Linked DNA regions of Homo sapiens: regions 2, 3, 4, 5 and 6 are each linked to region 1. Evidence: promoter capture Hi-C in 16 types of primary human blood cells and fetal thymus (Javierre and others, 2016). All regions are on one chromosome and are shown on one strand. Each heading gives the region's core, a stretch centred on a gene start or on the middle of the fragment in contact. The rest is flanking DNA. Distances are from core to core; before and after follow the strand shown. Region 1 holds the start of ZNF548 (zinc finger protein 548). Region 2 has its middle 6.0 kb from the start of ZSCAN18. Region 3 holds the start of ZNF256 (zinc finger protein 256). Region 4 holds the start of ZNF835 (zinc finger protein 835). Region 5 overlaps ZNF329 (zinc finger protein 329). Region 6 overlaps ZNF418 (zinc finger protein 418).

Region 1 (4,826 bases), core at 2,279-4,778:
GCTCACTTTTAGAAATTTAACATAATGACTTCACTATTAACTGCCTATCTGTTTGCACACACTTAGAAAGATACTGTCTAATTGGGGTTTAAATCAATAAGTGTTTCATACATTATTAAGTTAATGAGTTATAGAGAAGGGAAGAGTAGGCAGGTCAGGTACTGGTCCTTTCTGCAACCAGGTCTACCTGCTACATAATCTTCTAAAGTGAGCTTGCCAGGAGACCTTGGCTGGAGCAGTAGATCATCCCCTGTAGCCCTGACATGTAGAGAAGGGGAAAAAGCAGTGCTCTGATCTGGAACCCAGCTACTCCACCAGCCTCAATAACATTTCTCTTGTTCAACAGAGAGTGGCCCTGAGGGTCAACCAAGCCTGCAGGTGCAGGATCGAAACCACCTCACACTTCAGCCTCCATCCCAGGCCATATGCTTACCCAGTCCAGGCCTCCCTTTTTACAGATGCAATCCAGAATCCCTGTTATGCCAGGTCTGCACCGTTCTGGACAGAGTATGATGTCTGTGGAGCCACCAATGGTCTGGCCCCCAAGTCTCAGCCCCCTGTTCTCTCAACACAGAGCCCACCTGAAATGACAACCTCAAGATTTCCCTCAAATTAAGTCCATCTGACTTCAAATTATACTACAAGTTGTTAGTAACCAAAACAGCATGGTAATGGATAGAAATAGACACATAAGGTGTACAGCTCAGTGGTAAAGCATTTGACTGCAGAAATAGACACATAGATCAATGGAACAGAACAAAGTTCCTAGAAATAAAGCCACATATCTATAGCCAACTGATCTTTGAGAAAGGCAACAAATATGCACACTACGGAAAGGACACACTTTTCAATAAAATGTGCTGGGAAAACTGGATTGCCATATGAAAAAGAATGAATCTGGACCAATTTCTCTTGCCATATACAAAAATCAACTCAAGATGAATTAAAGATTTAAATGTAAGACCTGAACGAAGAATACTAAAGGAAAACTCAGGGAAACCCCTTCTGGACATTGGTCTAGGCAAAAAAATTCATGAATAAGACTTCAAAAGCATAAACAACATAAACAAAAGTAGACAGGACCTAATTAAACTAAACAGCTTCTGTATAGCAAAAGGACTAATCAACCAAGTAAATGTACAACCTGAAAAATGGGATGAAATATTTGCAAACTATGCATCTGACAGGGTACTAATATCCAGAATTTACAAAGAACTCAACAACAAACAAACAAAACATAACAAAAAAACAACAACAAAAAATCTCATTAACAGTAAGCACAGGGCTGGGCGCGGTGGCTCACACCTGTAATCCCAGCACTTTGGGAGGCCGAGGCAGGTGGATCACCTGAGGTCAGGAGTTCAAGACCAGCCTGGCCAACATGGTGAAACCCCGTCTCTACTAAAAATACAAAAAATTAGCTGGGCGTGGTGGTGGGCACCTGTAATCCCAGCTACTTGGGAGGCTGAGGCAGCAGAATTGCTTGAACTAACCTGGGAGGTGGAGGTTGCAGTGAGCCGAGATCGCGCCACTGCACTCCAGCCTGGGCGACGGAGCGAGACTCCATTTCAAAAAAAAAAAAAAAAAAAAAACAGTAAGCACAGGGCAGACATTTTTCAAAAAGAAGACACATAAATCGCAAGCAGGCATATAAAAAAATGCTCAACATCATTAATCATCAGACAAATTCAAATTAAAACCACAGTATCTCCTTACACCAGTCAGAATGGCTATCATTTAAATGTCAAAAAACAACTGATGTTGCCCAGGATATGGAGAAGAGAAAAAGGTTACACACTGTTGGTGAGAATGTAAATAAGTACAACCTCAATGGAAAACAGTATGAAGATTTTTCAAATAACTGAAAATAGAACTGCCATTAAATCCACCAATTCCACTACTGGGCATCTACCCAAAGGAAAATAAATCATTACATTAAAAAAAACATGTATTTTTATCACAGCACTATTCACAATAGCAAAGATAGGGAATTAACCAATTATCCATCAATGTATGACTGGGTAAAGAAAATGTGGCATATATATACACAAGGTAATACCACTAGGCCACAAAAAAAAAAAAAAGCATGAAACTATGTCTTTTACAGCAATGTGGATGGAACTGGAGGCCATTATTAAATGAAACAACTCAGAAACAGAAAGTCAAATACCAAATGTTCTCACTTACAAGTGGAAGCTGAATAATGTGTACACATGGACAAAGAGTGTGGAATGACAAACATTGGAGACTCCAAACAGGTAGAAGGATGAGACGAAGATGAGTGATGAAAAATTACTTAATGGATACAATGTACATTATTCAGGCGATGGATACATTAAAAGCCCAGACTTGACCACTATGCAAATATATCCATATAACAAAACTGCACTTGACTCCTTAAATTTATGCAAACAAACAAACAAAAAAAACCCGAGACCGACCTACTCAATCTGATCCTCAGACCATTCTCTGGCCCAGTCCAAGCCCTCCATCCGTCTGGTATCGCCAACCCAATCCCCTTCCTCAGACTCCACACCTTTATGTCCACCTGTCTGTGTGACATATCCATCTTGAGACATTTGAGAATCACCATGTCCAAAATCCAACCTGTGATCTTCTCCCGGAAATCTGCTCTTTATGCTGACTTCCCCAACTCCATTCTTCCAAACGTTCAAACAGAAAACAAAAAACAAAACAAACACTTGAAACGGTTCTTCACTGCCTTTGTTCAGACATAACTGAAGCACCAGGAAAACCTACGGGCCCTATCTTTCAGGCCTATGAAGAATCTCATCACATCTCCCTCTACTGTCACTGGTCCAGCCCCAACCATAATTCTCCTGGGTCTACTGCAGTGGCCTCAGGGCCTTTTCGCGTCTCCCTGTGTCCATTCCTAACCTGGTTTTCCTAACTTGAAACTTCGAACTCTGGACCTGCCCCCTCCAACTGTCCCTCCCTTGACAACCTTCCATGGTTACTGGCTGCTCAGGTTGCCATTCCAAGCGAGAATTCACAAAACCCTCTCTTTCCCGCAGAAACAACACACACCCCTGACGCCCCAACACAGCCCACTCGGCAGCGCCTCCATGCTCTGAACCTGAGGTCCCTAACGGGAGCTCTGAGGCTGCATCAAATCGGCTGATACGGGGACCCCACACAGGAACGCCCCTCTCTTCGGGACAAGGGGCCTGACCTGCAGGGCCCCTTCAGGGGGCTTCAGCACTGGGAGGACCGGTCGGGCGGGGGAGCCTGGGACGGGACACCCACCTCAGTCAGGTTCATCAGCAAGGCCTCCGCCAGCCCAGCCAGGGAAGAGCGGGGCGGGAGCGACAAAGGCAAGACAAGGACGCCACTGTCCCCAGCGCTTGTCAGTTGACTCACTCCCGCCTCTCCGTGGTGGGAACCGAGCCGCTTCTCGCGCTTTTCCGTTCCGTCACTTCGGTGACGTCAGACAGAGCCATAGGCCGAAGTTGGTGAAACACCACACAGAACCAAAACGACCACCACCAGGAGGACGGCGGAAGTCCCGCCCTCCGACGGTGCGCACGCACGCAAACGTCCCCTTCTAAGCCTTTATTGGGTAAGTCGTGCCGCCGAGAGCTGCAGTGTCTTCTGGGTTATGAAGTTTCGACACCGCTTCCGGACTTGTCTTAGAGCGTTGATCAGTCCTTATATGGCAGATAAAGGCCCAGTGGCACTGTCAGGGGAGCTGGGAAACGGAGTCCCCGACTCCAAAGACAGGAGGGGGCTTGGCTTGCTCTTAAAGGCAACATACGGTATTTTTTTGGATTGTAGTATAGGATATTTACAGAAATGTTAGCAACTTATTACTTAAGACTCTATTAAGCACAGCTAATTCCCAATAACTACAGGTCCAAAGAGACACCCCATACCATAAAGGCAGTCTGCCTCTACTCATGCCTGCCAGCCATATTATTGCTTTTCAAATACACATACAGTTACGCTTTGGCGTCTGTTTAGTAAGCTTCAATATGTTTGGTCCAGAAGAAGAAAGAAAGACTACGCAGTTAGGGCTATGGACTGGAATTTGTAGGAAGGATGACAGGAGACGCTGAAGTAGGTTGAAAGGGTGAAGCTATGCCTCTGGATCAAAGAGAATACATCTTACCTGACTGTAGAGTCAGCGATTGTGTTCCTACGAAGGGTGCAACGCTTTTATTCTAATAATACTTACTACTTCATATCTGAGATATTTTCCATTTATTTTAAGAATCACAATCCTATCTGAAAATGAGAGTGACGACCAAAATGAGTGATTGAGGCATAAGTCACAAATCATGGAGGATTACTGGACCAGCCTAAGGGCACATCCAGAAAAATGTAAGTCACAGAAGCATCTGTGGCTGGTTTTTCCAAAGAGGTTCTTAGGAGGTTTAGTATTTATTATACATTTTCCTTAAAAAGGAAGAGGGGTTGGCAGTGAGACAAATGATTACAGACATGTGAAACTTTAGTTAGTGCCCAGTAAATCTACATTTTACATAAGATAGAGTAAACACGTGAGGGGAAAAGGGAATAAAGAAGATGTCTCAGAGAAGGATGAAGGAATGAATAATCTCATCTTCTCTCTGTTCTGTACCTTGGAAGATAAGCTAGTAGTCTTCTGAAAAGGTTGATTTCTATTTAGCCCTTAGGGAAGAAAACCTAATGATTGTAGTGTGGTAGGGGATATAATGAGGTGTGTCTGATTTCCCGTTCCTCTATAGTGGTGAATTCAGCTTCCAAAGTTATTCTAGGGTTCTCATGGTCAAGAGGGCATCCATTCAGTCAGTTAGGGGGTGCTTAGAATTTTATTTTTATTTCTC
Region 2 (4,725 bases), core at 1,488-3,987, 710 kb before region 1:
TCCCAAGTAGCTGGGACTACAGGCGCCCGCCACTACGCCCGGCTAATTTTTTTTGTATTTTTAGTAGAGACGGGGTTTCACCGTTTTAGCCGGGATGGTCTCGATCTCCTGACCTCGTGATCCGCCCGCCTCGGCCTCCCAAAGTGCTGGGATTACAGGCGTGAGCCACCGCGCCCAGCCAGATGTCTTTTTTTCTTTTGAGACATGGTCTCATTCTGTTGCCCAGGTTGGAGTGCAGTGCTGCAACCATGGCTCGCTGCAGCCTCGACCTCTAGGCTCAAGTTGTCCTCTCACCTTAGCCTCCTACATAGCTGGAACTACCAGCATGCACCACCACGCCTGGCTAATTTTTTTTATGTTTTGTAGAGACGGCATCTCACCATATTGCTCAAGCTGGTCTTGAACTCCTGTGCCGAAGTGATCCTCTTGCCTCATCCTGACAAAGTGCTAGTATTACAGGTGTGAGCCATTGTGCCTGGCCTAGAATGCTCTTAATGGCATCTAGCATAGTGAATCATTTCCAGAAGGTTTTTAATTTACTTTCCCTGGATCCATCCAAGGAATCATTACTATCTATGGCAGCTATAGCCTTACAAAATACATACCTTTTTTTTTCTTTTTTGATAAGGATTCTCACTCTGTTGCCTCGGCTAGAGTGCAGTGGCGCGATCTCAGCTCACTGCAGCCTCTGCCACCTGGGTTCAGGCGATCCTGATGCCTCAGCCTCTTGAGTAGCTGGGACTACAGGCATGTACCACTATGGCCGGCTAATTTTTTATTTTTAGTAGAGATAGGGTTTCACCATGTTGGCCAGGCTAGTCTTAAACTCCTAAGCTCAAGTAATCCACCTGCTTCAACCTCCCAAAGTGCTGGGAATACAGGCATGAGCCACCACGCATAGCTGCAAACTGCATTCTTCTTTTTTATTTTTTATTTTTTTGAGACGGAGTCTCACTCTGTTGCCCAGGCTGGAGTGCAGTGGTGCGATCTCTGCTCACTGCAAGCTCTGCCTTCCGGGTTCATGCCATTCTCCTGCCTCAGCCTCCCGAGTAGCTGGGACTACAGGCACCCGCCACCACGCCCGGCTAATTTTTTGTATTTTTAGTAGAGACTGGGTTTCACTGTGTTAGCCAGGATGGTCTCGATCTCCTGACCTCGTGATCCACCTGTCTCAGCCTCCCAAAGTGCTGGGATTACAGGCCACTGCGCCTGGGCCAGCTAAACTGCATTCTTAAATAAGAAGACTGGAAAGGCAAAATTATTACTCCTTGGTCCATGGGCTGCAGAATACACGTTGTGTTGGCAGTTGCGAGAACAACATTAATTTCCTTCTATGTCTTCATCAGAGCTCTTGTCAGTGAGCAGCCATAATTTGAATCTTTTTTTCTCAGGAGGAAGTCTCTCAACAGTGGGTTTAAAATATTCAGTACACCATACTGTAAACACGTACTGTCATCCAGGCTTTGTTTACATTTATAGACAGCACTCAGAGTAGATTTAACTTAAATCTTAAGGCCCTAGGGTTTTCAGAATGGTAAATGAGCTTTGGTTTCAACTTAAAGTCACCAGTTGCATTAGCCCTTAACAAGAGTCGGCCTGTTCTTTAAAGCTTTGAAGCTAGGCACTGACTTCTTTCTAGTTGTGAAAACACTACCTGGCATTTCTTCCAACAGAAGGCTGTTTTCTTTACATTTAAACTGTTGTCTACTGTAGCGACCTTCCTCAGTGATCTTAGCTAAATCTGGAGAACTTGCTGCAGCTTCTGCATTAGCACTTGCTGCTTCACCTTGCACTTTTATGTTACGGAGATGACTTAAACTTCATGAACCAACCTCTGCTAGCTTCAGACTTTTTTATTTTATTTTATTTTATTTTATTTTATTTTATTTTATTTTATTGAGATGGAGTCTCACTCTTTTGCCTAGGCTAGTGTGCAGTGGCATGATCTCGGCTCACTGCCAACCTCTGCCACCTGGGTTCAAGCAATTCTCATGCCTCAGCCTCTTGAGTAGCAGGGATTACAGGCACTTGCCACCATGCCTGGCTAATTTTTTTTGTATTTTTAGCAGAGATGGGGTTTCGCCACGTTGACCAAGCTGTTCTCAAACTCCTGACCTCAGGTGATCTGCCCATCTCTGCCTCCCAAAGTGCTGGTATTACAGGCATGAGCCACCACACCCGGCCCAGACTTTTTTTTTGTTTTGTTTTGTTTTGTTTTGTTTTTGAGACAGCCTCACTCTGTTGCCCAGGCTGGAGTGCAGTGGCACGATCTCAGCTCACTGCAACCTTCGCCTCCCAGGTTCAAGCAATTCTCCTGCCTCAGACTCCTGAGTAGCTGGGACTACAGGCGCACGCCACCATGCCCAGCTAATTTTTGTATTTTTAGTAGAGGTGGGGTTTCACCATGTTGGCTAAGCTGGTCTTGAACTGCTGACCTCAGGTGATCCATCCCGCTTGGCCTCCCAAAGTGTTGGGATTACAGGCATGAGCCACTGTGCCTGGCCGGCTCAGAATTTTCTTCTGCATCTTCCTCGCCTCTCACAGCCTTCATAGAAATGAAGAGAGTCAGGACCTTGCTCTGGATTAGGCTTTGGCTTAAGAGAATGTTAGTTCTCTTTGGGTAGTTTGATCTCCTATCCAGACCATTAAAGCTTTCTCCCTATTGGCGACAAGGCTGTTTCAGTTTCTTGTCATTCACATATTCACTGGAGTCACACTTTTCATTTCCCTCAAGTTTTTCTCTTGGCCATCACAATTTGGCTGTTTGGCACAAGAGGGCTAAGTTTTGGCCTGTCTTTGACACGCCTTCCTTACTAAGCTTAATCATTTCTAGCTTTTGATTTGAAGTTAGAGGTCTGACTCTGCCTTTCACTTGAACACTTAGTGGCCATTGTAGGGTTATTAACTGGCCTAAGTTCAATATTGTTTTGTCTCAGGGAATAGGGAGGCCTGAGGAAAGAGATTGAGAGAGAGTGCGTACCAGCGAGCAATGGCAGGTTGGTGGAGGAATCAGGACACACAACATTTATCTGCTGAGTTCATTGTCTTATATAGGCGTGGTTCCTTTCACTCCAGAACAATTACAATAGTTACAACAAAAATTACTGATCACAGATCACCATAACAGATAATAATAATGCAATAGTTTGAAGTATTGTGAGAATTACCAAAATGTGACACAGAGACACAGAGAGCATATGCTGTTTGATAAATGGTGACAATAGACTTAATTGACACAGGTTGCCACAAACCTTCAACTTGTAAAAAATGCAATATCTGCATAGGATAATTAAGCAAAGTGCAAGAAAACAAGGTAATGCCTATATCTGGAAGTTAGTCGTGACACAGAACCTAAAGACTTACCGTATTTCCTTTATTCTGTGATACATATCTTGCCATATTTTAACATCTGAAAACAAACCAGGTTAATCAGTGATATGGTTTAATTGGCAGCCTTTTTTTATTTTTTTATTTTTTTTTAGAGAGAGTCTCGCTGTGTCACCCAGGCTGGAGTACAGTGGTGCTATCTTGGCTCACTGTAGCCTCCACCTGCCAGGTTCAAGCGATTCTGCTGCCTCGGCCTCCCAAGTAGCTGAGATTAGAGGTGCACACCACCACACCCAGCTAATTTCTGTATTGTAGTAGAGACGAGGTTTTGCCAGGCTGGTCTTGAACTCCTGACCTCAGGTGGTCCACCCACCTCGGCCTCCCAAAGTGCTGAGATTACAGGTGTGAGGCACTGTGCTAGGCCTCAGGCAGCCTTTTATTAGCACATAAAATGTACATGTTACCATCTGTTATCTTGGAATCAATGAAATAAGAGTAATATCAGAAGGAGGAATTGAATGACTAGTGAGAGTCCATTTGAGGAGAAATACAACTCTCAAGGAAAAAATCTTGTTGCTGAGATGACAATTAACATTGACATATCCGATGCAGTACAAAATGGCAAGTCTGTGTGCCATTGTAGTCCTTCCTACCTTGCTGAATAATCATTGTTACCTGCCTTCTTTCTTATAGCCTGTGTCAGCCATAATTGTTATTTTATTGCAAGATTTTTAAAGTTCATAATGTGGGGGGAAGCCAAACAGCACAGAAGAGTATATGGTTTGTTTGTTTGTTTGTTTGTTTGTTTGTTTTGAGATGGAGTCTTGCTCTGTCGCCCAGGCTGGAGTGCAGTTGCGTGATCTTGGCTCTCTGCAAGCTCTGCCTCCCGGGTTCACACCATTCTCCTGCCTCAGCCTCCCTAGTAGCTGGGACTACAGGCGCCCGCCACCATGCCCGGCTAATTTTTTTGTATTTTCTTGGTAGAGACAGGGTTTCACCGTGTTAGCCAGGATGGTCTCAATCTCCTGACCTCGTGAGCAGCCCACCTCGGCCTCCCAAATTGCTGGGATTACAGGCGTGAACCACTGCGCCCGGCTGAGTATATGGGGTTTTTTAGTAAGCTGCCTAAACAGGGAAAAGTCACCGTCCTTATGGAGCTTCTACTCTAGCTTTTATACTGAAATACCTTTTGGTCAGTAATCGTGTGTGTGTGTATGCATGTGTGCATTTTGAGGCTTTTATTTATAAAAGAAAACATAATATGCCTGGAAGCTAATAGGTGCTCATTTAAGTGTGTGATCTCTGGCTGCTTAGAAGGCCTATATAGGAAACTCAACCCTAATTAAAGAAAAAAGTTATGTGAAATTACATGAACACACTGGTGCAGGACCATGTAAA
Region 3 (4,664 bases), core at 1,416-3,915, 560 kb before region 1:
TATGGTGTTTTTCCCAGGCCCGCCCATGACTGCCCATGGGCCAATCAGCATGCACTTCCTACCACCCATGGACCAATGAGCACACACTTTCTCCATTCTGAGCCCATAAAAAACCTGTAGACTCAGCCAGACTCAGACATCGGAGACTATCTGTATGCAGGTGTGAGCTACTCCCTTCAGGTTTCCTGAGGGCTGTTGGGTTGTCCAATAAAACCCTTCTCTGCCTTGCTCACCCTCCAGTTGTCTGCATAACCTCATTCTTCCTGGACGTGGGATAAGAACTTGGGGGACAAGAACTTGGGACCTAACGAACAGCAGGAGAGAAAGGGGCTGTAACACATTCCTGGCTGAGTAGCCATGCTTCTGGGCTGCATGAGTGAAAAATGGCGACTCTTCTGGAGGCCCAGACTTTGGGATTCCCCGAGCCAGAGCTGTAACACTATAGCCCTCCTGCCCTCAGCCAGCACTGGGTGGCCGCCCCCCACGATGGGAAGCAGCAGCGAGCCAGAGCAGGGCAGCGGGACTGAAAGAGCTATATCACAAACAAGCTGAAAACACACCCCACCCAAAACACACCTCCCCGCTTGCCAGGCTGCAAGCAACGGGAAGGAGAGAAGAGCTGTGGCTCTTCCGGGAGCCCAGGCCTCGAGACTCCGGAGCCAGGGCTGTGACATGCTGCAACACCCTCTTTGGGGTTCTGCTGTTCTTGGTGTCTCCGAGCTTTCCGGCGCCACCATTTTTCCCTCGTCTAGATGCTGGTGCCTGCAGCAGAAGCCGCCTGCAGTATGTCTGGTCCAGTCGCAGACTTGCAAGGAGCCGGCGCCTGTGCCAGCGCCTGGAGCTGCCCGCCCCGCCGCAGCAGCCAGCGTGCCTGGCTGTGTGCACTGGCTGGACCCTTCACTTGCTCGCTCACACACCCCTTGCGGCTCCGCGCCTGGCTCGCCCTTGGTAGGTGTGGGATCCAGGTGCAGCCTGCTGGGCCGAGTGGGTGGAACAAGCCCAGCGGGTGTGAGCAAAACTCAAGCAGAGGCGCGACCACAGAGGTTTCTGGCTGGCGAAGCGACACCCATTATTAGTAGCTTTCTGTAATTTGTATTTTACAATTCTTTTTCTGATATCGTATCAATTTTTTATGCAGAACAGCCCTATAATAATGGGGGCAAAGGGCCGGGCACAGTGGCTCACGCCTGTAATCCCAGCACTTTGGGAGGCCGAGGTGGGTGGATCACCTGAGGTCAGGAGTTCGAGACCAGCCTGGCCAATATGGCGAAACTCCGTCTCTACTAAAAATACAAATACAAAAAAAAAAAAAAAAAAAAAAGATTAGCCGGGTACGGTGGCGGGCGCCTGTAATTCCAGCTACTTGGGAAGCTGAGGCAGGAGAATCGCTTGAACCCGGGAGACAGAGGTTGTGGTGAGCCGAGATCGCACCATTGCACTCCAGCCTGGGCAACAAGAGCGTAACTAATGGGGGCAAAGATAATCATTTCAGCGTTGAGAAGAGATCTTGAATTTAAGATACACCCTACATTTGGGATTCAGAGCACCCTTTGTTCCACCTGTTAATGCTCTAGCTAGCCATCATGCCTTTTCAAAATACCATTCCTTTTGTTGTTCTCTTTCTGAGCTTGATGTCAAATTATTAAAAAGAAGTGAATATAAAGGCATGGAGAAAGTGAGATTAGATTCATGCAAGTGTTGCTTAGTGAATTGGACACAATGTTTGACTACACAGGCACGAGAGGGACCCAGAGACAGGGATCTACTTATGTCCTGCTGCTGCAGGGTGCCTCCGCATCCCACCTTCATCCTCTTTGTCATGAACCTGTGTGGAGTGTTTTTTTTCTTGTCCCTAATCAAACATACAGAGACTGAGAAAACTGACTCCAGTGCTTGAGTGCATGCGTTTGAATTGCAACATAGTCTTTTTTTTTTTTTTTTTTTTTTTTTTTTTTTGAGACAGTGGCTCGCTCTTTCCCCCAGGCTGGAGTGCAGTGGCGCGATCTCGGCTCACTGCAAGCTCTGCCTCCCGGGTTCAAGCTATTTTCCTGCCTCAGCCTCCGGAGTAGCTGGGGACTACAGGCGCCCGCCACCACACCCAGCTAATTTTTCTTTTTTTTTTTTTTTTTGTGGTATTTTTTGTATTTTAGAGACGGGGTTTCGCTGAGTTAGCCAGGATGGTCTCGATCTCCTGACCTCGTGATCCGCCCGCCTCGACCTCCCAAAGTGCTGGAATTACAGGCGTGAGCCACCGCGCCCGGCCGCAACATAGTCATATTTATTTGCTTTCTCAACCAGTGGATATATTTTGTGACTGACTGACTGTATGTAATAATATGTGCATCTGGATATGTGCCTCTGGGAACACATGAAATGACACGTCTCCAAACAAACACTGGCAGACAGCAATCGGTAGAAACCTGGGTACGTCTCCTTTAAGAAAGAACGAAGCCTCGCCTCCGCCCCAACCTGGAGTGTCCATTTCCCAGCGCCCCCTACAGGGGTTTGGCCTTTACTTCCGGAAGGAGGTGGAGGCGACCCTCACTCTCCCGCCGTGCGCCTGTGGGAACATTACCCAGAATGGCCTGCGTTGGGCGACGGCGACCTTCAGCCAATGAGGCCTCCGAAAGGTGGTGTTTCCGTAAGCGCACGCGCGGTCGCGGCGGGACTTCCGTTGTCCTCCTTGTGGCGGTCGTTTTGGCATTTGTCTGGACTGATTACTTGGTAGAAAGCCCCGGAGCGCTGGGTCAGCATCATCCGTGACTGACTGAGAAGGCGCGAGAGGAGTCTTCCCCGCTGCACAGAGGCGTGGCTGAGGCTCGGCGGCGCCCAGGGTACCCAGGCCCGGCCCGGAATAAGGACATCCTCTCTGGCCCCGCTCCGCTCACAGAGTCAGATGGCGGCGGCCGAGCTGACGGCCCCGGCCCAGGTATGTGCCGCGTCCTCTGGGCCTTCCCCGCCCTCCCCACGCTAGTCCTAGCACCCCCGAGGGCGCTTGCTCGCGGCCCTGCTGCCCAGGACAGGACACGGGGGCTCGCCGGAGGGGCTCCCGTTTCCAACACCTGGTGTGCTAGGGAAGGGAGGGCGCGACTGGCAAGGAGCCCCTGATGAGAGGCGCCACTGAGCCCTGGGGCACAGAGGTGACACAGCCATTGCGAGGGCACCCGGCTCCAAGGCCAGGCATGGGGCTACGGGGTGGCTTGAGCCCATCTAATACCGCCATAGATGCTCTTCTCTGAGGCCTGGCTCTTTCTACGTTTCCCTTGGCTGTAAAGGGTTATGAAATCTACGCCAGGAAGGGGAGGGTTTCCCAGTCTCTCACTAGCCCTAACTCCCACCCACAGGTTCTCTGGGTTGTGGAGTGCCATTCCCCCAGCCCTTAGTTCTGAAGACCTTGGGTGAACCCCAAGCCCAGGGTCCTATGTCCATGTTAGCCGGTATATAGAGTTGTTCCAATTTCTGGCAGCCATGTGAACGGGTGTGGAAAGTTTTTCCAGAAAGGTACAAGATGTGCAAATGCTTAGGTGCAGTACGGAGCTGGGTGCATTTATGAAGCCACAAGTCTCCTTGCTTTCTGGTGGGAAGCAAAGAACAGGAGGATAGGCGTCAGGACTGCAGTGGCTGCCTGAGAAGTTGAGTGTGTTTTCAGGAGGTAATAGCAAGTTTGAATCAGAAAAAAGAGGTAATTTACCAAGGTCTTCACAGGCTTCATCTGTGTGCACAGTGGGGCACAAACTGGGGGGTTGAGGGAGGAGGAAGGAAAATCAGGGTAGACTAGTCCAAGTGAGGGTTACTGGCCCAGGATCGTGATTTAGGAGATGTGGTTAGATTCCGGATGTGTGGTTTCAAAAGGGACAACTAAATTACATAATGTAGGTGGTGAGGGAGTGAAACAGAGGGTTCAGAGAAGACTCCAGGGTTTTTGGTATTAGCAGCTGTAGGGAAAGAAGTTTCATCAACTAAGATGAACAAATTGGCAATAGGAGTAATATTCACTAGGGATATCAGGTTTGTTTATGCCATGCTAAGAGTCAGATCTTTCAGAGCCTACTAAATGGAGGCGTTAAGTGGGCAGATGAACGTGCCGGTCTTGAAATCTAGGGAGTGGTTCAGGGTGCAGATATTCAAGATGTGGCTGTTGTGCGCACCAAGGTTAGTGAGCTGTGGGTCACAGTTAGGCGGGGCAAGCTCCAGGTTTTGGTTGTAAAGCTGTTAGTGGGCCAAGACTGGGAGGATGATGATAGAGTAAGTGGTCATGAAGGCAAGGTATGTAAAAGACAGTGTAGTTTGGCAGTGGCCACGGCTCCCAAGAGAAGAATGGACATGAGATGGATGCAAACGCATAGGACACTCAGGCCAAAACTCGTGCTTATTCACCACTTTATGGGTATCCAGGATTTTGTGATAACTTGATGGGGCCTGGGTGTTTCATTCAGGCTGGAAGATTAAGTTAGTGTCATGTGGTCATTTGTGAGAGTCATTGTGTGTGAGATGAACGACCAGTGAGGCTGGGATTTAAATGAGCTTTAGGTGGATATATGACTCTCAAGGGGATGGTAAGTGCAGCACAGAAGTGGAATAGGGCCATGGTTATCTGTGATTCACCTGTGGTTCTGTGTGGCTATGTCTGAGGCAAGGAATACAGCCTGGCAGGGAGGCCTTCA
Region 4 (4,877 bases), core at 901-3,400, 720 kb after region 1:
AAACTCTCTCCTGCCTCTGCCAGGAGAGAGCTTGTTCCTCCAACCCCAGGAGGCCAGGCAAGCATGGACAGGAGCCAAGGGAGCAGGGTCATGAACTTTTTCATCTTTGCAAAGTGGGCACTTGGCATCAGGGTCCCATCACCAGAAAGCACCAAAGCCCCTGGCACCCCACCCACTCCATCCTACCCAGGGACCCCAAGTAGGCAACTGCTATGGCAGTGGGTCCAGCCCAGGCCGGCACTGCCAGCCTCCTCTCCCTGCAGTAGGCACCAGCTCTACCTCCCCCGGCAGGCAATGTCCTGGCTTCTCAGCCCAGCACCATCTGTTCCCCTAGACTTCTCAGGGGCCAGCCCAGTCTGGGCCACCCTTTCCCTCATCCTCGGCTCCCACACAGGTGACAGGCCCAGCAGATAGCTTCTCTCTGGGAAAGGTTGGATGCTGCCTTACATCCCCTTCTATCCCTCCTCCCATCCACACACACAGGCACCCACCCACACCAGGTCTGCTTGTTTCTCACATGTAGGGAGAGGGGGGGAGACCAACCCCTTTGTGTCTTTTGAAATACGAAGAAAAATGTGTGTTCAGGAGCATGACTCCAGTGCTGGGCTCTTGGGCCCAGTTCAGTCTGTCTTGTCTCAAATCTAGGCACTTTTGCTTCAATTTTATTTTTTTTAAGAAAACAAAAACAGAAATCTGCACTAATTTACCTGGTTCTTAGGAAAACTTTTTTTTATTTTTTACATTTTTTGGTGTCCGTTTGTATTGAATAATTTGCTACATTTGTAAAATGTAAGAGGTATATATAATATATGTATATTTCTAACGTAAAAACAATTTTTTTCTTTTCAAGATTTTTTCTTAAAAAGATGAGAGAAACATATTTTTTCAGGAAAAACAAACTTTAAAAAAAAAAGAGGAGAAATAAAACCTTTTCTCCCCTTTCCCCATCCTCTATCTATCCCTGTTTCCCAGGAACAAATCAAAAGGTGGATTATCTTCTGAAGAATGGAAACTGTTAGTCCAGAATGATGTCTTTTTCTCAATGCAGTGAGTTATAGATTCTCTAGTTTTCTCCCTAGGGATGGGAAGGGGGCATTGACGCAAGCCTGGAGAGGAGCCCGGGGAGCAGGGTCATGAAGTTTTTTCTTCAGTGAAGGAGGAATACAATCAAGGGTTTTGTATTCAGAATGTTGTGCAATATTTTGGAATAGGACATTGGTGTGTTTAGAGATTTTAGTTTAAAAACAAAACAAAAAGATTGATCAAATCTGTACAGTTTCTATTGTTCCAGATTTTTTAAAGTTTGTATTAAAAGCATGATACATAATAAAAATAAATAAATAAATAAAACTAAAAAGTAAAATGAAATTCTTCATCTATGTTAATGGATTTGCCACCTTCTTTGCCATAGACTGGAATGACATCAGCTACCTGAGACCAAAATAAAAGTGTGGGTTGCAAACCCTGGCACCTACCTTTTTAGATTCCGCAGCCTGCAGTAGGGACTTAGCCTGTCTGAACCTCAGCTTCCTTCTTTCTTCTTCTTTTTTTTTGAGACGAAGTCTCGCTCTGTCACCCAGGCTGGAGTGCAGTGGTGCGATCTCAGCTCACTGCAACCCTCGCCTCCCAGGTTCAAGCCATTCTCCCGCCTCAGCCTTCCAAGTAGCTGGAAGTGCATGCCACCATGCTCGGCTAATTTTTGTATTTTTAGTAGAGACGGGGGTTTCGCCATATTGGCCAGGCTGGTCTCGAACTCCTGACCTCAGGTGATCCACCCGCCTCGGCCTCCCTAAGCGCTGGGATGACAGGTGCCCGGACTCAAGTTCCTTCTTTCTAAGCCTGTGGGCTCGGCCTCATCCCCTGAGCAAGAAAAAAGTCCCACCCCTGAGTTACTGGAAGCGCCCACCGCCATGCACTGAGGCTGTAGTGGGCGGGGCTCGGGGCAGCAGCCCGGCGCTCCTCGGGCCCCCAGGGGTCAGCGCCCTGCGGACCTAGCGTGTGCAGACGCTTAGCCTTCTGGGAGTTGTAGTTTCGATGACCCAGGCTTTGCAAGCTTTAGTCGCGGTGCCGGCGAGCGCGCAGCGCCCCCTGGGAGTCGTAGTTCCTAAGAACCAGGCGGGCCCGATGCGCAGGCGCAGTCCACCCCGGCCTGGTGCGCGGGCTCCTCCGCAGCAGCAGAAGTCTTGACCTTAGCTCGTCTAAGGAAGGAGGCACCAGGGTCTGCGTTGGCCCAGGAGGACCCGAGACTGAGTAGAAGCGGAGCCGACTGCACCAGGCTAGGAGGGGGCCGGCCAGCGCGTTCGAAGGTGATACCGGGAGGCGAGAGCAACGGTGTGTAGTGTGCGCGTGTTCCTGCAGGTGTGTGACCGCGTGTGAGCCCGTCCCCGAGTGCCATTGTGTCTGCACCTGTTCACTTAGCGGTGTCAGCCCGTATAGGTGTGTGACTGCCTGTGAGCCCGTCCCTGAGTAACACAGCGTCTGCACCTGGTCACTCGACGGTACCAGCAGGTGCAGGTGTGTGACTGCCTGTGAGCCTGTCACTGCATCTGCACCTGCTTACTCGGCGGTGCCAGCCCGTCACTGTGTCTGTACCTGCTCACTTGGCGGTGCCAGGCCGTGCAGGTGTGTGACTGGCTGTGAGCCTGTCCCTGAGTGTCACAGCGTCTGCACCTGCTCACTCGACGGTACCAGCAGGTGCAGGTGTGTGACTGCCTGTGAGCCCGTCCCTGAGTGTCACAGCGTCTGCCCCTGCTCACTTGGCGGTGCCAGCCCATCACTGTGTCTGTACCTGCTCACTCGGCGGTGCCAGGCCTTGCAGGTGTGTGACTGCCTGTGAGCCCGTCCCCGAGTGTCACTGTGTCTGCACCTGCTCACTCAGTGGTGCCAGCCCAGGCAGGTGACTGCAGGTAAAGGCATGTAACACTTTATCGGTGTGTTATGTGCTCGTTCATGTGAAGCGGTGTCTGCATATCACAGCATGTCACATACACGTGTGGCTGCCTTTGGGCAAGTCTGAAAGTTCTCCTGGATGTGAGGTGTGTGACCCCACGTGTGCATGTCTGGGTGTGCCGCCGTGTAGGCTGGCTCGGCCCGTGTGCCTGCCAGCACAATGATGGGTGACCTGGCTGTGCGAGCCTGTAGAGTGCCGTGCTGTCTGAAGTGTGTGCATCTGCACATGATGGAGACGCTGCACATGTGGGCTTTGGCTATGCTGGAGCTCTATCCACCGAGTGTGACTGCACATGTGTCCAGCCATCCCCTGTGGGTGTGTCCCAGTAATGGCCGGCCTGTGTGGAGCAGGTGGCATGTGTGACCTTGTGCGTCTCTGTGCACCTCTTCACACAGGGAGCTACGTGTGGGGCTGGGTGTGTGTGTAGCTACGTGTGCCCGGGACCCTGTGTGCATGTGTGAGTGTGGCTGCAGGTGATGGCTTCCCACCTGCCTCCTTGCATGGGGGTTAGGAGGGCGACTGTGTGTCCCTGGATATGGGTTTGGGTGTCTCTGCATGTCTGTGTGTGTCTGGGCAGGTATGATTGTGTATGACCCTGTGTGTGTCAGAGTGTGATGTAATGCATGTGTCTTCCTGTGATCTTGTGATATAATAAGAAATATATGTTTAATCTTTATCCCCAGCTCCTGGTACCAGAGCCCCTAAAACCCTTGGAATTTCCTGAGTGACAGGGGTAGAAGGAGTGTCTTCTGCAACTCTTAATAAGCCCCCTGCAACCACACCTGTGTTTATGCTAATGGAGGACTCCTGATAGGCCCCCAAGTACATTTATGCTAATGGAGGACTCCTGATAGGCCCCCAAGTACATTTATGCTAATGGAGGACTCCTGATAGGCCCCCAAGTACATTTATGCTAATGGAGGACTCCTGGTAGGCCCCCAAGTACATTTATGCTAATGGAGGACTCCTGATAGGCCCCCAAGTACATTTATGCTAATGGAGGACTCCTGATAGGCCCCCAAGTACATTTATGCTAATGGAGGACTCCTGATAGGCCCCCAAGTACATTTATGCTAATGGAGGACTCCTGGTAGGCCCCCAAGTACATTTATGCTAATGGAGGACTCCTGATAGGCCCCCAAGTACATTTATGCTAATGGAGGACTCCTGATAGGCCCCCAAGTACATTTATGCTAATGGAGGACTCCTGGTAGACCCCCAAGTACATTTATGCTAATGGAGGACTCCTGATAGGCCCCCAAGTACATTTATGCTAATGGAGGACTCCTGATAGGCCCCCAAGTACATTTATGCTAATGGAGGACTCCTGGTAGGCCCCCAAGTACATTTATGCTAATGGAGGACTCCTGATAGGCCCCCAAGTACATTTATGCTAATGGAGGACTCCTGGTAGACCCCCAAGTACATTTATGCTAATGGAGGACTCCTGATAGGCCCCTAGGATGGGCTGGTTGCCACGGGAGCTAGCCCTGATGAGCATTCCAGCCTTCAGCCAGCCCCTACCTCCTGGGAGGGGAGAGGGCTGGAAGTTGAGTTCATCACCGATGGCCAGTGTCATCACACCTATGTCAGTCACGCCCGTGTCATGGAACCCCCATAACCACCCTAAACTTAGGGTTTGCCGAGCTCTGGGGCTGTCGAGCACCCAGAGAGGGCATGGTGCTCTGAGCTCCTCCTTATACCTTACCCTGTGTGTCTTCCATCTGGCTGTTCCTGAGTTGTATCCTTTATTGGAAACCAGTAACCGTAAATAAAGCATGTCCCTGAGTTCAATGAGCTATGTGAGCAAATCACCAAACCCAAGGAGGGGTTGAGGCAGTTTTATGGTTGGTAGCTGCCTGTGCCTCCCAGTCAGAGCAGATTGGAGACTTGGTTGTTGGTGTGGAGAAAGCCCACGTGTCAGAAG
Region 5 (4,293 bases), core at 414-2,913, 740 kb before region 1:
TTGTATTTTTAGTAGAGACATAGTTGCCCAGGCTGGTCTTGAACTCCTGACCTTAGGTGATCCACCTGCCTCAGCCTCCCAAAGTGCTGGGATTACAGGCGTGAGCCACTGTGCCTGGCTTAATTTTTGTATTTTTAGTGGAGGTGGGGTTTCACCATGTTAGTCAGGCTGGTCTCGAACTCCTGAGCTCAGGTGATCCACCCACCTCAGCCTCCCAAACTGCTGGAATTATAGGCGTGAGCCACCGCGCCTGCCCCCAGTTTATGTTTTCACAGCTGCCACTAAGGTACCCTGCCAAGCACGCTGACCACTTTCCAAGCCCTCTTCCCTTGTGACCTACCAAAGCTTTATATTATTGTACTTCATTTTATTTTTACTCACGTGAAATGTGTATATTTTGTGTTCTTAAAGTCGCAGTTTGGAATTGCCTGAATGATAGAATGAGAAAATAAATATTGATGTTTTCAGGACATTTCTTTTTTTTCTTTCTTTTTTTTTTTTTTTTGAGGCAGAGTCTCGCCCTGTTGCCCAGGCTGGAGTGCAGTGGCGCTATCGCGGCTCACTGCAAGCTCTGCCTCCCGGGTTCATGCCATTCTCCTGCCTCAGCCTCCCAAGTAGCTGGGACTACAGGCGCCCGCCACCACGCCTGGCTAATTTTTTGTATTTTTAATAGAGACGGGGTTTCACCGTGTCAGCCAGGATGGTCTCGATCTCCTGACCTTGTGGTCCACCTGCCTCAGCCTCCCAAAGTGCTGGGATTACAGGCGTGACCCACTGCTCCCAGCCAATGTTTTCAGGACATTTCTATTTTCCCTTCACGAAGTGCTCTTTGATTACTTTGCCCATTTTTTTTCTTTTTATGTGCTGTTCTGTAAGAATCCTCTGTAGTTCTTGGGCAGTAATTCTTTGTGCTTTTAAATCTTATTTTCTCTCTGTAAGAATCCTCTATAGCTCTTGGGCAATAATTCTTTGTGCTTTTAAGTCCTATTTTCTCCCTATCTGCCACTTGCATTTTGTCTCTTATTGTGTCTTTTATTGGATGGAAAATTTGAATGCTGATATCAGACTTCTTAATCCTTGTCTGTTTTTTATTTTTTGGTTTTTGTTTTTTGTTTTTAAGACATGGTCTCTTTTGCCCAATCTGGAATGCAGTGGCACAATTACAGCTCACTGCAGCCTCAGCCTTCTGTGTGGGCTCAAGTGATAACTCCCACTTCAGCCTCCCAGAGTGCTGGGATTACAGGCATGACCCCCAATGCTTGGCCATATGGTTTTTTGGTTAAGTTTTGTTGATCAAAGTCTGCCACACTTATGAAGGCATACTACATTATTTAAACTTTGACTTTATGTTGCAGCCTGTATCCTTCTGAAATGTAAATACACGCGCACACACACACACACACACACATATACACATATACATGTATATATATTTAAATTGCCTAGAATGTAGACATATATGTATGTATGTATTCTGAGGCAAGGGTCTATTTTCATTTTACCTTAAAAAATAGAAAGAAGGCTGGGCACAATGGCTCATCCCTGTATTTGCAGCATTTTGGGAGGCTGAGGTGGGATAATTGCTTGAAGTTTTTGAGATTGAGGCTTCAGTGAACCAAGATCACACCACTGCACTTCAGCCTGAATGACAGAGCGAGACCCGATCCCACCAAATGAATGAACGAATGAATGGACAACCAGTTGTCTTAATATTGTGAAGTCTGAATGGACAAGGATGGTGACAGGAAGATTGATATGCATGAAGACACATGCAACCATTTACAGAATGCCCTTCATCCCCTAGCCTTGGAGACTGCTTTGTACATGATCCAGTTTTTTTTTTTTTTTTTTTTTGAGACGGAGTCTTGCTCTGTGGCCCAGGCTGGAGTGCAGTGGCACGATCTTGGCTCACTGCAAGCTCCGCCTCCCGGGTTCGCGCCATTCTCCTGCCTCAGCCTCCCGAGTAGCTGGGACTACAGGCGCCCGCCACCACGCCTGGCTAATTGTTTGTATTTTTTTAGTAGAGACGGGGTTTCACCACGTTAGCCAGGATGGTCTCAATCTCCTGACCTTGTGATCTGCCCACCTCGGCCTCCCAAAGTGCTGGGATTACAGGCGTGACCACCGCGCCTGGCCGACATGATCCAGTTTTTATAACAACCATGCAGGGCAGTCTTTGACAGTTTTTGTTTTGTTTTGTTTTTTGAGATGGAGTCTCACTCTGCCGCGTAGGCTGGAGTGCAGTGGTGTGATCTCAGCTCACTGCAACCTCTGCCTACCAGGTTGAAGTGATTCTCCTGCCTCAGCCTCCAGAGTAGCTGGGACTACAGGCATGTGCCACCACGCCTGGCTGATTTTTTTTGTATTTTTAGTAGAGACGGTGTTTCACCATGTTGGTCAGGCTGGTCTTGAACTCCTGACTTCAAATGATCCACCTGCCTCCACTTCCCAAAGTGCTGGGATTACAGGAGTGAACCACTGTGCCCCGCCAGGTCATTGACAGTTCTAAGACTTAGACCCAGAACTTTTAGGTCACCAAGCCTGTGCTTTGTCCTATCCATGAATGCAGAACTTTGATGACAGAGCTGGGGTGAGAACTGTTCCTTCAGTGCTGTTGTAAGCTCATTGTGAAGTCAGAGCTTTGGAAATGTGTACTGATGGGCAGTGTGTGACAGGGACAAGAATGCAGTGGCTGGGATGGAATTCTAGGGGGAGCAGGGATGCTTGGCCTCTGGTCTCTCACATCTCAAACTAATCCTTTTGGTGATGATTTATCCCGAGGTCCATTCCTCCTGCCTGCTCTCTAGGAAGATGAAAATGCTACATGGCTCTTTTTGAATCTGTTCTTGGTTCCATTCCTTGGCTACGATTTTACCTCTTCCTTGTATAAATTTGAATTTAAAAGAGAAAACAAGTAAAAAAATACACATCTTTACACCTAGCCCATCATCATTGTCTGTTTCTCTTACAGATAAAGCTTCATATACCTAAGTCTGCATTTTTCTTCTTTTTGCAGTTTGGGATATGAGATTGAAAATGACGACTCGGAATTTTCCTGAGAGAGAAGTACCCTGTGATGTAGAAGTGGAAAGATTCACAAGGGAAGTTCCCTGCTTGTCCAGTTTAGGTGATGGTTGGGACTGTGAGAACCAGGAGGGACACTTGAGGCAATCAGCTTTAACTCTGGAGAAACCAGGGACTCAGGAAGCAATTTGTGAATATCCTGGTTTTGGGGAGCATTTGATTGCAAGCTCAGACCTTCCACCGTCTCAGAGAGTTCTGGCAACAAATGGTTTCCATGCACCTGACTCAAATGTTAGTGGTCTGGATTGTGACCCCGCCTTACCCAGCTATCCTAAAAGTTATGCAGATAAGAGAACTGGTGACAGTGATGCCTGTGGAAAAGGCTTCAACCATTCCATGGAAGTTATTCATGGAAGAAATCCAGTGAGAGAGAAGCCCTACAAATACCCTGAAAGTGTTAAGTCTTTTAATCATTTTACCTCTCTTGGTCATCAGAAAATAATGAAAAGAGGCAAGAAATCGTATGAAGGTAAGAATTTTGAGAACATCTTTACTCTGAGCTCATCGCTTAATGAAAACCAGAGAAATCTCCCTGGAGAGAAACAATATAGATGTACTGAATGTGGCAAATGCTTCAAACGGAACTCTTCTCTTGTTTTGCATCACCGAACTCACACCGGAGAGAAGCCTTATACTTGTAATGAGTGTGGAAAGTCCTTCTCCAAGAACTACAACCTGATTGTGCATCAAAGAATCCACACAGGAGAGAAGCCCTATGAATGCAGTAAATGTGGGAAAGCTTTCAGTGATGGCTCAGCTCTGACACAGCACCAGAGAATTCACACAGGCGAGAAACCTTATGAATGCCTAGAGTGTGGAAAAACCTTCAACCGAAATTCATCCTTAATTTTGCACCAAAGAACTCATACAGGGGAAAAACCATATAGATGTAACGAATGTGGGAAACCCTTCACTGACATCTCCCACCTTACAGTGCATCTCAGAATCCACACCGGTGAGAAGCCCTATGAGTGTAGCAAATGTGGAAAGGCTTTCCGGGACGGCTCGTACCTCACCCAGCATGAGAGGACTCACACTGGAGAAAAGCCCTTTGAGTGTGCAGAGTGCGGGAAATCCTTCAACAGAAACTCTCACCTCATTGTGCATCAAAAGATCCATTCTGGGGAGAAACCCTATGAATGTAAAGAATGTGGCAAGACTTTCATCGAGAGTGCGTACCTCATCAGGCATCAGAGGATTCATACTGGC
Region 6 (4,792 bases), core at 1,913-4,412, 530 kb before region 1:
CATTTTTCTTTTGAATCAATTCTTTAAAGCCATAATAAGGAATAAATGACATTCTGTAAACTATACATATTTAAACTGTACCATGTGGTAAGTTTAGACTTTCATAGAAACCCATGAAAGTGGCCAGGCACGGTGGCTCACGCCTGTAATCCCAGCACTTTGGGAGGCTGAGGCAGGCGGATCACGAGGTCAGGAGATCGAGACCATCCTGGCTAACATGGTGAAACCCCGTCTCTACTAAAAAAATACAAAAAATTAGCTGGGCGTGGTGGCAGGCGCCTGTAGTCCCAGCTACTCGGGAGGCTGAGGCAGGAGAATGGAGTGAACCCGGGAGGTGGAGCTTGCCGTGAGCCAAGATCGCACCACTGTACTCCAGCCTGGGTGACAGAGCAAGACTCGGTCTCAAAAAATATATATATATGTGTATATATGTGTGTGTGTGTGTGTGTGTGTGTGTATGTATATATATGTATATATGTATATATGTGTGTGTATATATGTATATACATGTATGTATATGTATGTATATATGTATATATATGTGTGTATATATGTATGTGTGTGTATATGTATATATATATATATTTTGCATCCCTTGGCATAAATGGGTTAGGTAAGTGTGTCACTAAATAGAAAAATACTCCCGTCTGCAATGAATTAGAAAGTTGCTTTTGATTCTTTCTTAATTTTTTTTGTTTTTGAGACAGAATGTCCGTCTGTCTGCCCAGGCTGGAGTGGCACGATCTCAGCTCACTGCAGCCTCCACCTCCAGGGTTCAAGCGATTCTCCTGCCTCAGCCTCCCGGGTAGGTGGGATTACAGGCATGCACCACCATGCCCGGTTAATTTTTGTATTTTTAGTGGAGATGGGGTTTTACCATGTTGTTCAGGCTGGTCTTGAAGTCCTGACCTTGTGATGATCTGCCCGCCTCGGCCTCCCAAAGTGCTGGGATTTCAGGCATGAGCCATAGTGCCTGGCCCTTTTTTTTTTTTTTTTTTTGAGACAGTGTCACTCTGTTGCCCAGGCTGGAGTACAGTGACACAATCACAATTCACTGCAGCCTTGACCTGCTGGACTCAAGTCATCCTCCCACCTCAGCCTCCCAAGTTGCTAGGGACAGGCATGTGCCACCACGCACAGCTAATTTTTAAAATTTTTCTGTAGAGATTAGGTCTCACTATGTTGCCCAGGCTGCTCTCAAAACTCCTGAGCTCAAGGGATCTTCCCACCTTGGCCTCTCAAAATGCTAAGATTACAGGATGAGCCACTGTGCCTGGCATGCTTTTGGTTTTTTTCTTGCAATTTAACAAAGTGGTGTCCCATATATTTAAGTATCAAATGTATAACTGAATTTTCTTTCTTTTCAGGGATCTCAAGGGCATTTCCCTTTGCCCACCTCACCTTTTCATATTTGGTAAACTGTATGCATTTGCCTCCAGCCCAAGATTATAAATATGAACTGATTATGATCTGCATGTTCTCTCTTTGGGTTCAAGCATTTCCTTACAGAAGAGCCACCGTGGAAGTCATGGGTAAATATGTGTTGAATTGGTAACTCCCTCTTGGAGAATTTCTTGTGAATTACACAGCAATAGGGGAACTCATTTAACTGGAGACATAATCTCAATTTGTAAAGTGTGGCCCATTTTCTAACATTTTTATTTTGCATACCCTCCCCTCTCTTCTCGATTGATGAAACTAACAAAGAGGTTAATAAAAGCCCATCTCGTCATGTACAGGGACTCATGCCTTTAATTCCAGTGTTTTGGGAGACTAAGGCAAGAACATCCTGGAGGCCAGGAGTTCGACACTGTATAACAGATATATCTGACAGCAGTAACTCAAGCACACCCTAAGAATGACCCTGTGGTCTAAGAAGAGTGTTGGTTCAGCGTTCCAAACGAAGAAATCCAGGAGTGGCCAACCTGGAGGTTTCTGAACCCCTGGCCTGTTCCTTGGAATGAGGCCCTTTGTTTTGAGCTAGGCGGAGGGTGATAAGTGAAAATACTATATAAACTGCATGCTTCTTTCAAATGATAGTGGTTTTTTTGTCCAGCCTGCCGCTCCTGGACTGCCCTGTATCTAAGTCCTCAATAAACCCTATGTCTCATTTTCTTTCTTTCTTTCTTTTTTGAGATGGAGTTTCGCTCCTGTTGCCCAGGCTGGAGTGCAGTGGCGTGATCTCGGCTCACTGCAACCTCCACCTCCCGGTTCAAGCGATTCTCCTGCCTCAGCCTCCCAAGTAGCAGGGATTACAGGCATGTGCCACTACACCCGGCTAATTTTGTATTTTTAGTAGAGACGGGGTTTCTGCGTTTTGATCACGGTGGTCTCGAACTCCCAACCTCAGGTGATCCGCCTGCCTTGGCCTCCCAAAGTGCTGGGATTACAGGCGTGAGCCACACGCCTAGCTCTATGTCTCATTTTCTAGCTCTGGCTCTCATTCAGTTCTTGGACATGGTGCCATCCTTGTTGAAGTCAACAGGGTAGGGATCAAGCATGATAGAGACCAGCCGGGCAACACAGCACAACCCTGTCTCTACCAAAACAGCTGGGCATGGTGGCAAATGCCTATAGTCCTAGCTGTGTGGGAGACTGAGGTGGGAGGATCATTTGAGCCCAGGGATTTGAGGTTACAGTGGGCCATGATTGCCCCATTGCACTCTATCCTAGACAGCAGAGTAAGACCCTGTCTCTCACCTGGCGAAATTAACAGAAGCTTTTCATATTACTTTGCTGAAAGCTCTTAAATTGGTTTTGCTTAACCTATAAACAACTCCTTTCAGAAAACAAGTATTCCGTTGTGAGAAAATTACCTATCATGCCATGAGGTTGGATGGAGGATTGTATGAACCAACTTAATTCAAAAGGGATCGACCAAGCATGGTGGCTAACGCCTGTAATCCCAGCATTTGGTAGGCCGAGGCAGGTGGATCGCCTGAGGTCAGGAGTTCGATACCAGCCTTGCCAACATGGTGAAACCTCGTCTCTTCTAAAAATCCAAAAATTTGCTGGGCGTGGTGGTGGATGTCTGTAATCCCATCTACTCTGGAGGCTGAGGCATCTTTTTATGTATTTATTTATTTTTTTGAGACATAGTCTCACTCTGTCACCCAGGCTGGAGTGCAGTGGTGCAACCTCTGCTCACTGCAACCTCTGACTCCTGGGTTCAAGTGATTCTCTTGCCTCAACCTCCCAAGTAGCTGGGATTACAGGTGTGCGCCACCATAACCATACCCAGCTAATTTTTGTATTTTTAGTAGAGACAGGGTTTCACCATGTTGGCCAGGCTGGTCTTGAACTCCTGACCTCAGGCGAGCCACCCGCCTCAGCCCCCCAAAGTGCTAGAATTACAGGCATGAGCCACCACACCCGGTAGGAGAATCGCTTGAACCCGGGAGGCGGAGGTTGCAGTGAGCTGAGATCGCACCACTGCACTCCAGCCTGGGTGACAGAGTGAGACTCTGCCTCAAAAAAAAAAAAAAGAAGAAGAAGAATCTCATTTTAAAGCCAAAACCATCAGACTGACCATTCCAATTATGTGCTGAGCATAATTTAATCTCTTGGACATTGGTGCTAACATTTCTCTGAGGTCCTAAGCTTTTTCACCATCTACTGATGTTTCCATAGACCCACTTCTGTCAAAACTGTTTAATAATTACCTAGTCAATGTTTTCTTGTTTTTTGCTTTTTATATTTTTGGGGGAGCGGGAGAGAGACGGAGTCTCGCTCTGTCGCCCAGGCTGTAGTGCAATTGCACGATCTAGGCTCACTACAACCTCTGCCTCCCGGGTTCAAGCAGTTCTTCTGTCTCAGCCTCCCAAGTAGCTGGGACTACAGGCACTTGCTACCACGCCTGGCTAATTTTTTTTTTGAGATGCCTAGGCTGGAGTGCAGTGGCGTGATCTCCGCTCACTCCAAGCTCCGTCTCCTGGATTCACGCGTTTCTCTTGCCTCAGCCTCCCCTGTAGCTGGGACTACAGGCACCTGCCACCAGGCCTGGCTAATTTTTTGTATTTTTAGTAGAGACGGGGTTTCACCGTCTTAGCCAGGATGGTCTCGATCTCCTGACCTTGTGATCTGCCCACCTCGGCCTCCCAAAGTGCTGGGATTACAGGCGTGAGCCACCACGCCCAGCCTACCTAGTCAGTATTAATAGGCTTTTGTATCTTGCAATTTACAACTGTTTCTCTTATGTAATATTAATTTTTCATGCAGAACACTCCCTCCTCTCAAATCAATGATAATCACTTCCCATCAATGACATGAACTCATGGCTTTTACAAATGCCCAGTATGAACAGATGGAGAGCACCAACTTTAAGTACTGTTTGAAATGCTTGTTCTTTAGTGCCGTAAAGAAATAGCACTTGACTTGGCCGGGCGCGGTGGCTCATGCCTATAATCCCAGCACTTTGGGAGGCCGAGGTGGGAGGATCACCTGAGGTCGGGAGTTCAAGACCAGCCTGACCAAGATGGAGAGACCCCATCTCTACTAAAAATACAAAATTAGCTGGGCATGGTGGCGCATGCCTATAATCCTAACTACTCAGGAGGCTGAGGCAGGAGAATCACTTGAACCTGGGAGACGGAGGTTGTGGTGAGCCAAGATCGCGCCATTGCTCTCCAGCCTGGGCAACAAGAGCGAAACTCCGTCTCAAAAAAAAAAAAAGAAAGAAAGAAATAGCATTGAACATAAATTTAATTTCCTCAGCAAGGCCATTTTTACTTTCTGCAGAAACGGTATACTCGCCAGCAGTTTTGCTGTGAGATTACACTGAACAAAGGAGACA

What was found. Contacts are between HindIII fragments. The CHiCAGO score rates a contact against its expected background, and 5 or more counts as called.
Region 2: a contact is called between a fragment that was not itself captured here and the fragment with the promoter of ZNF548 in region 1, in 2 of 17 cell types (total CD4 T cells and non-activated CD4 T cells). The highest score is 6.0, in total CD4 T cells.
Region 3: a contact is called between the fragment with the promoter of ZNF256 here and the fragment with the promoter of ZNF548 in region 1, in 3 of 17 cell types (total B cells, total CD8 T cells and naive CD8 T cells). The highest score is 5.5, in total B cells.
Region 4: a contact is called between the fragment with the promoter of ZNF835 here and the fragment with the promoter of ZNF548 in region 1, in 7 of 17 cell types (non-activated CD4 T cells, naive CD8 T cells, total CD8 T cells and 4 more). The highest score is 7.4, in non-activated CD4 T cells.
Region 5: a fragment that was not itself captured here is called in contact with the fragment with the promoter of ZNF548 in region 1 in 3 of 17 cell types (naive CD8 T cells, total CD4 T cells and neutrophils); the score reaches 8.2 in naive CD8 T cells.
Region 6: a contact is called between a fragment that was not itself captured here and the fragment with the promoter of ZNF548 in region 1, in 1 of 17 cell types (naive CD4 T cells). The highest score is 5.6, in naive CD4 T cells.

What each region holds. Positions count from the first base shown.
Region 1 is chr19:57,388,556-57,393,381 of GRCh38, reverse strand. ZNF548 (zinc finger protein 548) reads right to left here and starts at 3,528. Exons shown (of 4, transcript NM_001172773.2): 1 at 3,268-3,528. The coding sequence starts at 3,282. RefSeq lists enhancers at 3,271-3,750, 3,891-3,970. The HindIII fragment of the contact is 17,908 bases long and covers 1-3,987 here.
Region 2 is chr19:58,101,876-58,106,600 of GRCh38, reverse strand. It overlaps a transcript of ZSCAN18 not described here. Among named protein-coding and RNA genes, the nearest start is that of ZSCAN18, 6.0 kb to the right of the region's middle. The HindIII fragment of the contact is 167 bases long and covers 2,654-2,820 here.
Region 3 is chr19:57,945,707-57,950,370 of GRCh38, reverse strand. It overlaps ZNF256 (zinc finger protein 256), which reads left to right and starts at 2,665. Exons shown (of 3, transcript NM_005773.3): 1 at 2,665-2,929. The coding sequence starts at 2,897. RefSeq lists enhancers at 2,427-2,516, 2,587-2,686, 3,177-3,256. The HindIII fragment of the contact is 12,388 bases long and covers 1-4,664 here.
Region 4 is chr19:56,669,030-56,673,906 of GRCh38, reverse strand. ZNF835 (zinc finger protein 835) reads left to right here and starts at 2,150. Exons shown (of 2, transcript NM_001005850.3): 1 at 2,150-2,331. LOC105372473 (a long non-coding RNA gene) reads right to left here and starts at 1,928. Exons shown (of 4, transcript XR_936110.4): 1 at 1,476-1,928. The HindIII fragment of the contact is 4,177 bases long and covers 2,056-4,877 here.
Region 5 is chr19:58,128,235-58,132,527 of GRCh38, reverse strand. It overlaps ZNF329 (zinc finger protein 329), which reads left to right. Exons shown (of 4, transcript NM_024620.4): 4 at 3,017-4,293. The coding sequence starts at 3,025. Among named protein-coding and RNA genes, the nearest start is that of ZNF329, 20 kb to the left of the region's middle. The HindIII fragment of the contact is 2,632 bases long and covers 348-2,979 here.
Region 6 is chr19:57,919,205-57,923,996 of GRCh38, reverse strand. It overlaps ZNF418 (zinc finger protein 418), which reads left to right. Exons shown (of 6, transcript NM_133460.3): 5 at 708-805; 6 at 1,368-2,115. Among named protein-coding and RNA genes, the nearest start is that of ZNF417, 5.0 kb to the right of the region's middle. The HindIII fragment of the contact is 881 bases long and covers 2,722-3,602 here.